2 separate regions of the Homo sapiens genome follow, and region 1 is linked to region 2. The links are contacts of gene promoters, found by promoter capture Hi-C in human tissues and cell types (Jung and others, 2019). All regions are on one chromosome and are shown on one strand. Each heading gives the region's core, a stretch centred on a gene start or on the middle of the fragment in contact. The rest is flanking DNA. Distances are from core to core; before and after follow the strand shown.

Region 1 (5,571 bases), core at 970-3,469, 110 kb after region 2:
CTGGGACTACAGGCTCACGCTACCGCACCTGGCTAATTTTTGTATTTTTAGTAGAGACCAGGTTTCACCATATTGATCAGGCTGATCTCGAACTCTTGACCTCAGGTGATCCACCCATCTTGGCCTCCCATAGCGTGGGCCACCCAACCTGGCCTGCTGTTTTTTTTTTCTTTTCTTTTCTTAAATAGGGATGGGGTTTTTTGGCCAGGCTGGTCTCGAATTCCCGACCTCATGTAATTAGCCCACCTCAGCCTCTCAAAGAGCTGGATTACAGGCATGAGCCACTGTACCCGGCCTTCATGTGCTTACTGGCCATTTGTGTATCTTCTTTGGAGAAATGACTATTCAAATTCTTTGCTCTTTTTCGTTGATTATTTGTTTATTTATTGTTCAGGTGTAAGAGCTCTTTATGTATTCAGGGTACATATCCTGTATCAGATATATGACCTTCAAATATTGTCTCCCAGCCTGTGGGTTCTTTTTTCACTTTCTTGATGGTTTATTTAAAGCATGATAGTTTTAAATTTTGATAAAGTCCAATTTCTCCTTCCTTCCTTCCTTCCTTGCTCTTCTTTCCTTCCTTCCTTCCTTCCTTCCTTCCTTCCTTCCTTCCTTCCTTCCTTCCCTCACTCCCTCCCTCCCTCCTTCCTTCTCTCCCTCCCTCCTTCCTTCCTTCCTTTCTTCTTCTTCTTTTTTTGGGATAGAGTTTCCCTCTTGTTGCCCAGGGTAGATTGCAATGGTGTGATCTCAGCTCACCACAACCTCCGCCTCCCGGATTCAAGTGATTCTCCTGCCTCAGCCTTCCAAGTAGCTGGGATTACAGGCATGCGCCACCACGCCCGGCTAATTTTGTATTTTTAGTAGAGACAGGGTTTCTCCATGTTGGTCAGGCTGGCCTCAAACTCCTGACCTCAGGTGATCCGCCTGCCTAGACCTCCCAAAGTGCTTGGATTATAGGCATGAGCTACCGCGCCCAGGCTTATCTATCTTTCTTTTTTATCGTTTGTGCTTATAATAGTCATATATAAGAAATCATAGCCCACCCCAAGATCGTGAAGATTAACTGCTATGTTTTCTTCTAAGAAAACATTTAGCTCCTATGTTTAGGACTGTGATCCATTTTGAGTTGATTTTTGTGTATGGTGTGAGGGGTAGGGGTCCAAAGACATTCTTTTGCATGTGGATATCCAGTTGTCTAAGCACCATTTGCTGAAAAAAACTATTCTTTTTATCATTGAATTATTTTGTTCCCTTTGTAGAAAATAAATTGACCGTAAATGTTAGGGTTTATTTATGAACTCTCCATTCGAATTTCGTTGACCTATATGTCTTTCCTTATGCCAGTATCACACTATCTTGATTACAATATCTTTGTAGTAAGTTTTTTTTTTTAAGATGGAGTCTTGCTCTGTCTCTCAGGCTGAAGTACAGTGCCACGATCTCGGCTCACTGCAACCTCCACCTCCTGGGTTCAAGCGATTCTCCTTCCTCAGCCTCCCGAGTAGCTGGGATTACAGGCACACGCCACCATGTCCAGCTAATTTTTGTATTTTTAGTAGAGATGGGGTTTTGCTACTTTGGCCGGGCTGGTCTCAAACTCCTGACCTCAGGCGATCCCCTCGCCTCGGTCTCCCAAAGTGCTGGGATTACAGGTATGAACCACCGCGCCTGGCCTGCAGTACGTTTTGAAATGAGGAAGTGTGAGTCTACCAACTGTGTTCTGCTCCAGGATTGTTTTGATTATTCTGGGCCTGTTGCATTTCTGCCTTTTTTTTTTTTTTCTTTTAAACTCATCTGTATTTGTTACAACCTTTTTAAGCAGAATGTGACTTGGGTACTACAGTTCCATTCACAAGCCTCGCTCTGGGTTATTTCTGAACAGCTTTACAATATGCCTAGGTAGGCTTATAATTTTGCTCCTGCAAACAATATTTTCCTTTGGAAAACAAGTCCTGTGGAGAGTTCCTTCCATCAAGTTGCTTCAGTTTAACATATTTCCAGAGGACAATTACATGCAGAATTGGCAACTACAGGATGAAAAGTTTAAAAAGTAGATCCTAGAAGATGCAACAAATACTTTTCCTCTAAACATCAAGGTATTTCTCAGAAAACTTCAGTGACAAAGATTTGGCCTACTAAGGAATCTGGCTTGATAGCTTAAACAGTTTAGATCACAAAGTTAATGTTAGGTTACATACATCTTTTTTTTTTCTTTTCTTTCTTTCTTTCTTTCTTTTTTTTTTTTTTTGAGGTGGAGTCTCTCTCTGTTGCCCAGGCTAGAGTACAGTGGCGTGATCTTGGCTCACTGCAACCTCCACTTCCTGGGTTCAAGCAATTCCCCTGCCTCAGCCTCCCGAGTACCTGGGATTACAGGCACCTGCCATAGCACCCAACTAATTTTTGTATTTTTAGTAGAGACGAGGTTTTGTCATGTTGGCCAGGCTGGTCTTGAACTCCTGACCTCAGGTGATCCACCCGCCTCGTCCTCCCAAAGTGCTGGGATTACAGGCGTGAGCCACCGCACCCAGCCTACATACATCTTACAACACACATTACCCCAATCTGTTAAAATAAGCCAATGTGAAACTAGAAAAGCATTGCTAGCTCTGTTTTAGTGCCTGAAGTATCACAAAATCACTTAGAAGTATCACAAAATCACTTAGAAGTAGAAAGAAACCTTACCTTCCCCCTGAAATAGTTATTGTCATGCCATGCAGACTTTTTTTTTTTTTTTTTTGAAGGCAGAGTCTCCCACTTTCTCCCGGGCTGGAGTGCAATGGCGTGATCTCAGCTCACAGCAACCTCCGCCTCCTGGGTTCACATGATTCTCCTGCCTCAGCCTCCTGAGTAGCTGGGATTACAGGTGCACACCACCACACCCGGCTAATATTTTGTTTTTTTTTAGTAGAGATTGGGTTTCGCCATGTTGGCCAGGCTGGTCTCGAACTCCTGACCTCAGGTGATCCACCTGCCTCAGCCTCCCAAAGTGCTGGGATTACAGGTGTGAGCCACCACGCCCGGCCCCCATACAGACTTTTTAAATGTTAACAAAAATAACTAAAATAATCCTGAAAATATATTATCAGAGAGAATGAAGATAGAGTATTGAACACATGTACAAGTCATTCCTCAGCCAGAGCCGCCTACTTCTTCCATGCGTGATGTGTCATCACCTCCTCTGAGGGGCGGCATTTCTTTAGTTATAGCGGCATTGATATCATTAGCAGTAGGATCATATTCATCAACACCCAGACCAAGTTTGATCATCCTATAGATCTTGTTAGTATGTCTCTGAGGGTCTTCCATACTGAAGCCAGGAGATGGGAGTGCAGTTTAGTAAAGCAAGATGACCAGATCCTTCACTGACTTGTTGTTCTTATCAGCCTCTGCCTTTTGCCTTAAGGTTTCAATCATGAATGGTCAGGGTTTATCTCCAGGTGTTTCTTTGCTGCCACGTAGCCCATTGTTGAGTTGTCTTACCGGGCTTGAGCTTTCATGATTCTTTCCATGTTTGCTGTCCAGCCATATGTGCTTGTGACAATACAGCATGGGGATGTCACCAGTTTGACACAACCACCTTTTTGACTTTTTTCTCCAACATGTCTTTCATGATTTTGCAGAGGTTCTCAAACTTTGTTTTTTTCTCTTCCTGTTTCTTTTTTTCTTCTTCATCTTCTGGAAGTTCCAAACCCTCTTTGGCAACTGACACTACAGTCTTACTCTCAAGTTCCTTCAGCTGCTGGACACAGTACTTATCAATCAACTCGATCATATAGATCACTTCTAAGCCATGCTTCTGAAGACATTCCACAAAGGCTGAGTTAGCTACTTGGTCCTTGGTCTCACCTGTAATGTAATAGATATGTTTCTGGTTTGCCTTCATTCTGGAAAACACAATGAGATAAACCATCTCATCACGAGAGGCAGATGTGCACTATTTCAACAGCTCTGAAAGCTTCTTCTGATTTTGAGAGTCTATATATTCAAAGATTTATGTTTTCAGATAACTTCTCGTGGAACTTTTTGTAGTTCTTTTTATCCTCTGCCAGTTCAGCAAAGAGTTCTAAGTATGTTTTGACCAAATTCTTCCTAATAACTTTCAAAATTTTGCTTTGTTGCAACATCTCAGAAAAAATATTTAGAGGGAGATCCTCTGAGTCCATCACCCCTCTAATGAAGTTCAGGTATTCAGGGATTAGCTCCTCACAGTTACCCATGATGAAAACTCTGTGTACATACAACTGAATGTTGTTCTTTTTCTTTCTGTTTTCAAATAGGTCAAAAGGAGCACATCTTGAAACAAAAAGAGCTCTTCTAAACTCTTCGACTGTCCTTCAACTCTTCCAACTGCCCTTCAACTGAAAAGTGCTTCACTGCCAAGTGATCTTCCCAGTTATTGGTCAAGCTCTGATGGAACTCTCCATACTCCTCGTTAGTAATAGCGTCAGGATTTCTGGTCCAGATAGGCTTTGTTTTGTTGAGTTCTTGATCAATGTACTTTTCCTTACTTTTCTTCTTCTTCTTGTCAGCATCCTTCTTTTCTTCTTCTTCATCAGAACCAACATCTTCAATTTCAGGTTTGTCATTGGACTCTTTCTTTTTCTTCCTCTTATCTTCCTTTTTTTCAGCCTCAGCATCACTGACTTGTTTATTACGTTTCTTCTCCACAAAAAGAGTAATGGGATAGCCAATAAACTGAGAATGCTTCTTCACAATCTCTTTTATTCTTCTTTCCTCCAAATACTCAGGTCTTCTTTCAAGTGCAGGGTGCCCTTTGCTCCATGCCCCATAGGTTCACTGTGTCAGTCCTAACTGTGAGTGATCCCCCTGAGGAGGACTCCCGAGCATGCTGCTCATGTTTATGTTTGGTGATCACAGTTACTTTCTCAGCAACCAAATAAGCAGAATAAAAACCAGCACCGAACTTGCCAATCATAGAGATTCTGCACCAGCCTGGAAAACTTCCATGAATGCTTTGGTCCCAGACTGGCGACAGTACCAAGGTTATTGATCAAGTCAGCCTTGGTCATTCCAGTTTCAGTATCCATAATAGTAAGGGTTTGATCTTGTGTGCTTGGCATAAGATTAACGTGGAGCTCTTTCCCAGCGTCTAATTTACTGGGATCCGTCAAGGTTTCATATCAGGTTTTGTCCAAAGCATCTGATGAATTTGAAATGAGCTCTCTTGAGCCAGGCACTGTGGCTCACTCCTGTAATCCCAGCACTTTGGCAGGCCAAGGTGGGTGGATCGCTTGAGGTCAGGAGTTCAAGAGCAGCCTGGGTAATATGGTGAAACCCACCTGGGCAATATGGTGAAACCCCATCGCTACCCAAAATACAAAAAGTTAGCCAGGCATGACGGACATGCCGATGGTCCCAGCTTGTCAGGGGCTGACGCATGAGAATCACTTAAGCCCGGGAGGTGGAGGCTGCAGTGAGCCGAGATCACCCCACTGCATTTCAGACTGGGTGACAGAGTGAGATGCTGTGTCCAAAATAAAAATAAAAAGCTAAAAAAAAAAATGCTGAAATGAGCTCTCTCAGAAAGGTTTCTTTGTTCAAGTAGAAAGT
Region 2 (5,228 bases), core at 1,425-3,924:
TCTGTGATTGTGGTGAGGAACAAATGAGGCAATGTATGCAAAGCACCCAACATATAAGTCAGTGACCCCTGCTATGACTTTCATCCCCCATAACAGGAGGAAGGGGGATTATCCCCCTTCCATCCCCCATAACAGGAAGAAGCCTGCATTACCCACTACTTGGGATTCAAATGAGGTGATACTAGCGATTGTAAACTGTAAATCACTATAAACATGAGATATTTTATTGTCATTACCCACTGTAACCTACTTATAAGCATTTGCTTATACTGTTGCCCCTACCTTCCACTTAACTGAGTCCTACCCTTTCTTGCAGTCAAATGCTGGCTCTACCTCCTTCTGGAACATTCCTGGGGCCTCAGCCCAGAGCTCACTCTAGCCTCTAACCACAAGCCCCTAACGTGCTGGGCTTATGCCAGCTCTCAACACCACTGGATTCTGTTCCTCTTCTTCTTACCTGGATTGCAAATCCCCTGGGCAGGAATCAAAGCCATGTATGAATGAATCAATGAAAGAACCAGGTGCAAGCACAGCACACAGCACAGGGCTGGGCTTCTGTCCCTTCCCCGGGCACTCGCTGGGCCTCATAGTGCCAGGTTCTGTGTGAGGTGCTGGGATTTGGAGATGCTCCAGCGGGGAGACAGACAGGCAGATCTGTGACAATGACTCCCCCTGTAAGTGCCATAACGAGGGGGCACAAAAGGCTGGGGAGCCAGGAAACAGTGCAGCTATTTGTGGGAGAGTCAGGGAGGGTTTCCCTAGGAATGACGTTTAGTGGATCTTAAAGGACAAGTAGGAATTTGCTCAATAGAAGATGGAAAGACAGAGCAGAGAGTTGGGAAAGGACCTGTCAGTCAGTGTGGCCAGCGGCAGCGGTACCTGGTGTATGGGGTCGCTGGGAGAGGGATGGAATGGGGTGAGAGCGAGGGCCTTGGCTGCTAGGCACAGGAGTCTACACTTGATTCACTGGCCCACGCGGGGCCGGATTGAGGTGTGCAGCCTAAAATAGTAAGGGGCCGGAGGGGACCACCAGGGGAGAAGGCTCCCTTTGCAGCCCCCTAGAGAGACCGGTCTCCTGGGCTGTAAGGGTTGCTGGCGCCCCCGCAAGCCCTGTGCTGCCTGCTGTGTCTGTCTCCCAGGCTGTGAACCTCCGGGCCATGTTCTCCCAGCACCTGGCGCAGGTCAGGTGCCCAGCCCACGACTGCTAAATACCAGGATGAGCCAATGAATGCACAAGGCAGTGCCCGGAGGAAGGCGGGGGACGGGCGGAGGCCGAGCGGATGCGGGAGCCTGAGCTGCGCCCGGCTTTCAGGAGCGCGGGTGCGGGCGCGCGGAACTCACCCTGCGCGCAGCGGCGGGGCGTCGGGGTCCCCAGCCCCGGGCCCAGAGCGCGGCAGCAGGCGGCCTGCGAGCGGCGCCGGCTCTGCAGCTGGAAGGAGACGCGCCGTCCGGCGGCCTCGGCCTCGAAGCCGGACACCACCTCGGCCTCGGCCAGCGGGTACACGAACACGCCTGGGGAGGGCGGCGGGAGGCGGCGTCGGACCCTGCCCGGCGCACCCCCCGCCGCGCCCGCGCCCCACCCGGGCCTCACCGTCCACCGGCTGCGGCTGCGGGTTGCGGTAGGTGAGCCGGGCCCGCACGCTGAGGCAGGGGCCGTTGGCGCAGGCCCGGACCCAGGAGTCCGTGAGCGGCAGCGGCGTCCAGCTGGAGGGGCAGTACAGGCCGGGCATGGCGCCGGGAGGCCGGCCCTGCGGGAACGGGCCGGGGAAGCTGGGCGCAGGGTGACGGGACGCCCACCCCGCGCTCCAGAGGCCAGCGCGAGAGTCTCACTCCAGCACCCGGACGGGGCCTGCCGGGGCGCGAGGCCGAGCGGGAGCTCCTGAGGGCGACAGGTGGCGGGGGAGATAAGGGGGCGGCAGGCGTGGTGGCGAGGAGGGCATCCTCACGCGTTACCTGGGCAGCCGGGCCGCGGAGGGTTAATGATTAACGCGCGCTTCGGCGCCCAGCAGTCCCGCCGCGGCTCCCCCGGGGGTGGGGGCGGTCACAGCTGTTCCACCGCCCACTCCCAACCTCGCAGCCACCCCCGTACCTGCCGGCCCCCCGGGGCCCCCCGCGGCCGCCAGCTGTCGGAAGCGGCGCGGGTGGAGATGGAAGATGCTCCGGGAAGGCGGAGGTTTAAAGGGCCCGAATCCCCCCGGAGGCCCCCGGCCCTGCGAGGGATCGCGGGGGCAGGGTGGATGGGGCGCCGAAAGGGCCTTGGTCTTTCTCTCCCTGGTGCCTCATCCGACGGGGGTGCTGGCCGGAGTGGAGGGGTTAAGGGTGGGAAGAACGAGCTGGGAAAGCGAAAAGAGGGGGTCTTTGGGAGGCAAGCCCGGGAGAGGTGTCGGGCCAGGGAGAGTCCGTGGGAGCCGCCAGGTTACCGCTCCCTACCCCGGCAGAGCTGATGTGGGAGGAGGGGGCACCTGCAGTGGCCGCGGCCCGCGCAGGGGATGCCGCGGGCTGGCTCTGGGGATCGCCCCGCTCCCTGTGGCAGTCTCAGCCTCACCGTCGCGCCCTCCGCGGAGTTCTAGGTGCCCACGGGATCCGTGTGGGTGGTGCCGCCTCTGCGCTCCGGGTGGCCCTCGGTCCCGGCACCTGCCGGCCGCCAGTTCGTGACTGTGGCTGCAGCGGCTCTGAGTCCCGGCAGGGGCGCGGGCCCTGCCGGCGGTGGTCCCGCCCCCGTTCCGAGAGGCCGCCCCTCCAGCCTGCCCTGGCCACGCCTGCTGCTGCTGCGGCGGGGCTGGCGCTCCCCCCTCCTTCGGGCGCGGTACCGCCTCCGCGCCAGCCGCGGCAGCCCGAGCCAGACTGGGCACCGCAGTGCAGGGACCGCGTCCCCGCCGCCGCACGGATCCCCGTCACTGCAGGACCGAGGCCTCAGAGACCCCACCCTTTCCATTCTTCAGGAATCAGGCGTCCTGCAAGTGCCACCGACACTGCCGCGACCCCAGCTATCCCATTACCACGACGGCATCCCATTCCCCAGCCCACCCCACCCCCTGCCCTGGGTTGCTTCCCATCGCTGCAGAGACCCTCCCTCCTGACTGCAGCGAACCCCCCAGCCCCCCATCACCGTCACCGCAGGACTCTTCCCCCAAGAAGCTGGCCCCTTTCCTTTGCAAAGTGCTCTTCATCACTGCAGAAAACCTCCCCCATCCCTGCAGGTACTTTTAGTTCATGCAGCCACTTCAGTGACCACTCACTCCAAGCAGGGATTCCTCATCACTGCAGCGACCTCCTCCCACCCCCAAGCAGCCGGCCTTGGCATCGCTGCAGTGCCAACCACTTCTGCTGGGGTGGGAGGGTGTGCACAATAGCGCCCTCAGCCTATAACCCCTTGGTCTCTTCAGCTGTGCGGGCCTTGGGAGTGAAGCCTTCTAGCCTGAAGAGCCTTCTTATGGCTGCAGACCGTCCCCTCATAGCAGTGACCCCCACCCATCACCGCAGCCCTGAAGAGAAAACATCTCTGCTTGTCAGGAGGGCCCCTTGTTATTGGCAGACTTTGCATGTGCTTGACAGTGTTATGCTGTCAAAAAGTAGGAAGGTCCGGAAAACCTCTCCCAGGTCCCCCAAGGAAGAGTCTGAGAGCCCTGGGGAAGTGAGAGGAGATGACCATGTTTGGGGATCATCCATGTAAGCTTTTTGGCAGATGCCATACTGAGATTCTGCAGAGAGAGCTTGAGGAGAGCTGGGGATGGAGGACAGCCAGTAGGAAGTGAGCTTTCGAGTCGGGCCCATGGTTCTCACTCCTCCGCATTAACTCTCTCCTTCTGATTTCAATCACTATCACCAGGGATCATCCCCCCGGGGGATCCCTGCCTCCTTGAGTATCTGAGCCCTCAACCCCAACCATCTCCTTTGCTCACCCTACTTAGCATGGTGGAGAGAGCTTGACCTTTTCCCAGGGAATTTCATGGGTGGAAATGCACAGGAATGATACAGGGAGCACAGACACAGTCACACGTACCCAACACACAGGGAGCTCCAGCTGGGTCCTAGCCCTCTTTCCATACTACCTGGGTCATGGTTCCATTCACCTCTCTCCCCCTTTCTCTACTGAGTCTGTTCTCAGCTTCATCCTGAACGAGGGTCCCTCTTTCAGGCCTAGGGAGAAACAGTGGATGGGCTGATGGTCCCTCCAGGTGATCCAGGGCCTCAGGTAGGACCAGCCCTGGCCCTGAGGGCCTCACAAAGGTCCAGGCAGTGGCCACCTTTCCACAAGCACCTTGTGCTCTGCCCCTTCTACAAATGAACCAAGAGCTACATGTAGCCCTTGGACAAACATGAGGTTGCAAATAGCAGTCATTAGGGAGGTCTCCGACACATGGAAATGGAAAAAGAGGTCCTTCTGTTTGGTCCTGAGGAGAGCTTAGATGTAAGACAGCCTCCCAGGAAGATAGCATCCCTATCAGAGACCAGACACACACACTGGCAGAAGTCAAACTTTGCTGCAAAGCTGGACCAACCCTGAGATCTTGCTAGGAAGGTCTCCTTAGCTGAGGCAAATGGAGGGAGAGACAGGTGAATGGCTCCACAAAAAGCATAGGGCACCCTGCAGGATGAGGGGCAGGGGGTGGGGAGCCAGTGCTGGCTGCCTGGCACCTTGGGTGGGGCAGTAAGAAGGGTCTCTGAGGCCCAGCTGGAAGGCCCTCTGGTGGTGAGGCAGCAGCATGACAGCCAAGGGCAGAAGGGGACAGCACAGGAACCAGATTCCAGATCTGAGGCCGGGCTGAGGGATAGCATGGGGTGGGCTACGTGGTAGTCATAGGAGAATAGATGATATAGATGATATACATATAGATATAGATATATAGATATATTTTTTGAGACAGAGTTTCGCCCTGTCGTCCAGGCTGGAGTGTAGTGGAGCGATCTCGGCTCACTGCATGCAACATCTGCCTCCCAGGTTCAAGTGATTCTCCTGCCTCAGCCTCCTGAGAAGCTGGGATTACAGGCGAGCACCAGCATGCCTGGGTAATTTTTTGGATTTTTAGTAGAGACAGGGTTTCACCATGTTGTCCAGGCTGGTCTTGAACTCCTGAGCTCAGGCAATCTGCCTGCCTCAGCCTCCCAAAGTGCTAGGATTATAGGCATGAGCCACTGCGCCTGGCCCATAGGAGGATATTGAGCTGAAAAGACTTAGCTTCTGCCTAGGAGAGTCTCACACTTTAGTGAAAAGGGCAGACAAATAT

What was found. The method cuts DNA at HindIII sites, captures the fragments that hold promoters and counts their contacts. A contact is called where the count stands out against the background at its distance.
Region 1: a contact is called between a fragment that was not itself captured here and the fragment with the promoter of VWA5B2 in region 2, in 2 of the 25 tissues and cell types used here (H1 embryonic stem cells and IMR-90 fibroblasts).

The regions. Positions count from the first base shown.
Region 1 is chr3:184,115,457-184,121,027 of GRCh38, reverse strand. It overlaps the pseudogene HSP90AA5P. Among named protein-coding and RNA genes, the nearest start is that of HTR3E-AS1, 13 kb to the right of the region's middle. The HindIII fragment of the contact is 9,466 bases long and covers 1-5,571 here.
Region 2 is chr3:184,227,031-184,232,258 of GRCh38, reverse strand. It overlaps VWA5B2 (von Willebrand factor A domain containing 5B2), which reads right to left and starts at 2,674. Exons shown (of 20, transcript NM_001390846.1): 1 at 2,546-2,674; 2 at 1,592-1,879; 3 at 1,342-1,512. The coding sequence starts at 1,730. RefSeq lists a silencer at 2,567-2,906. The HindIII fragment of the contact is 9,993 bases long and covers 1-4,483 here.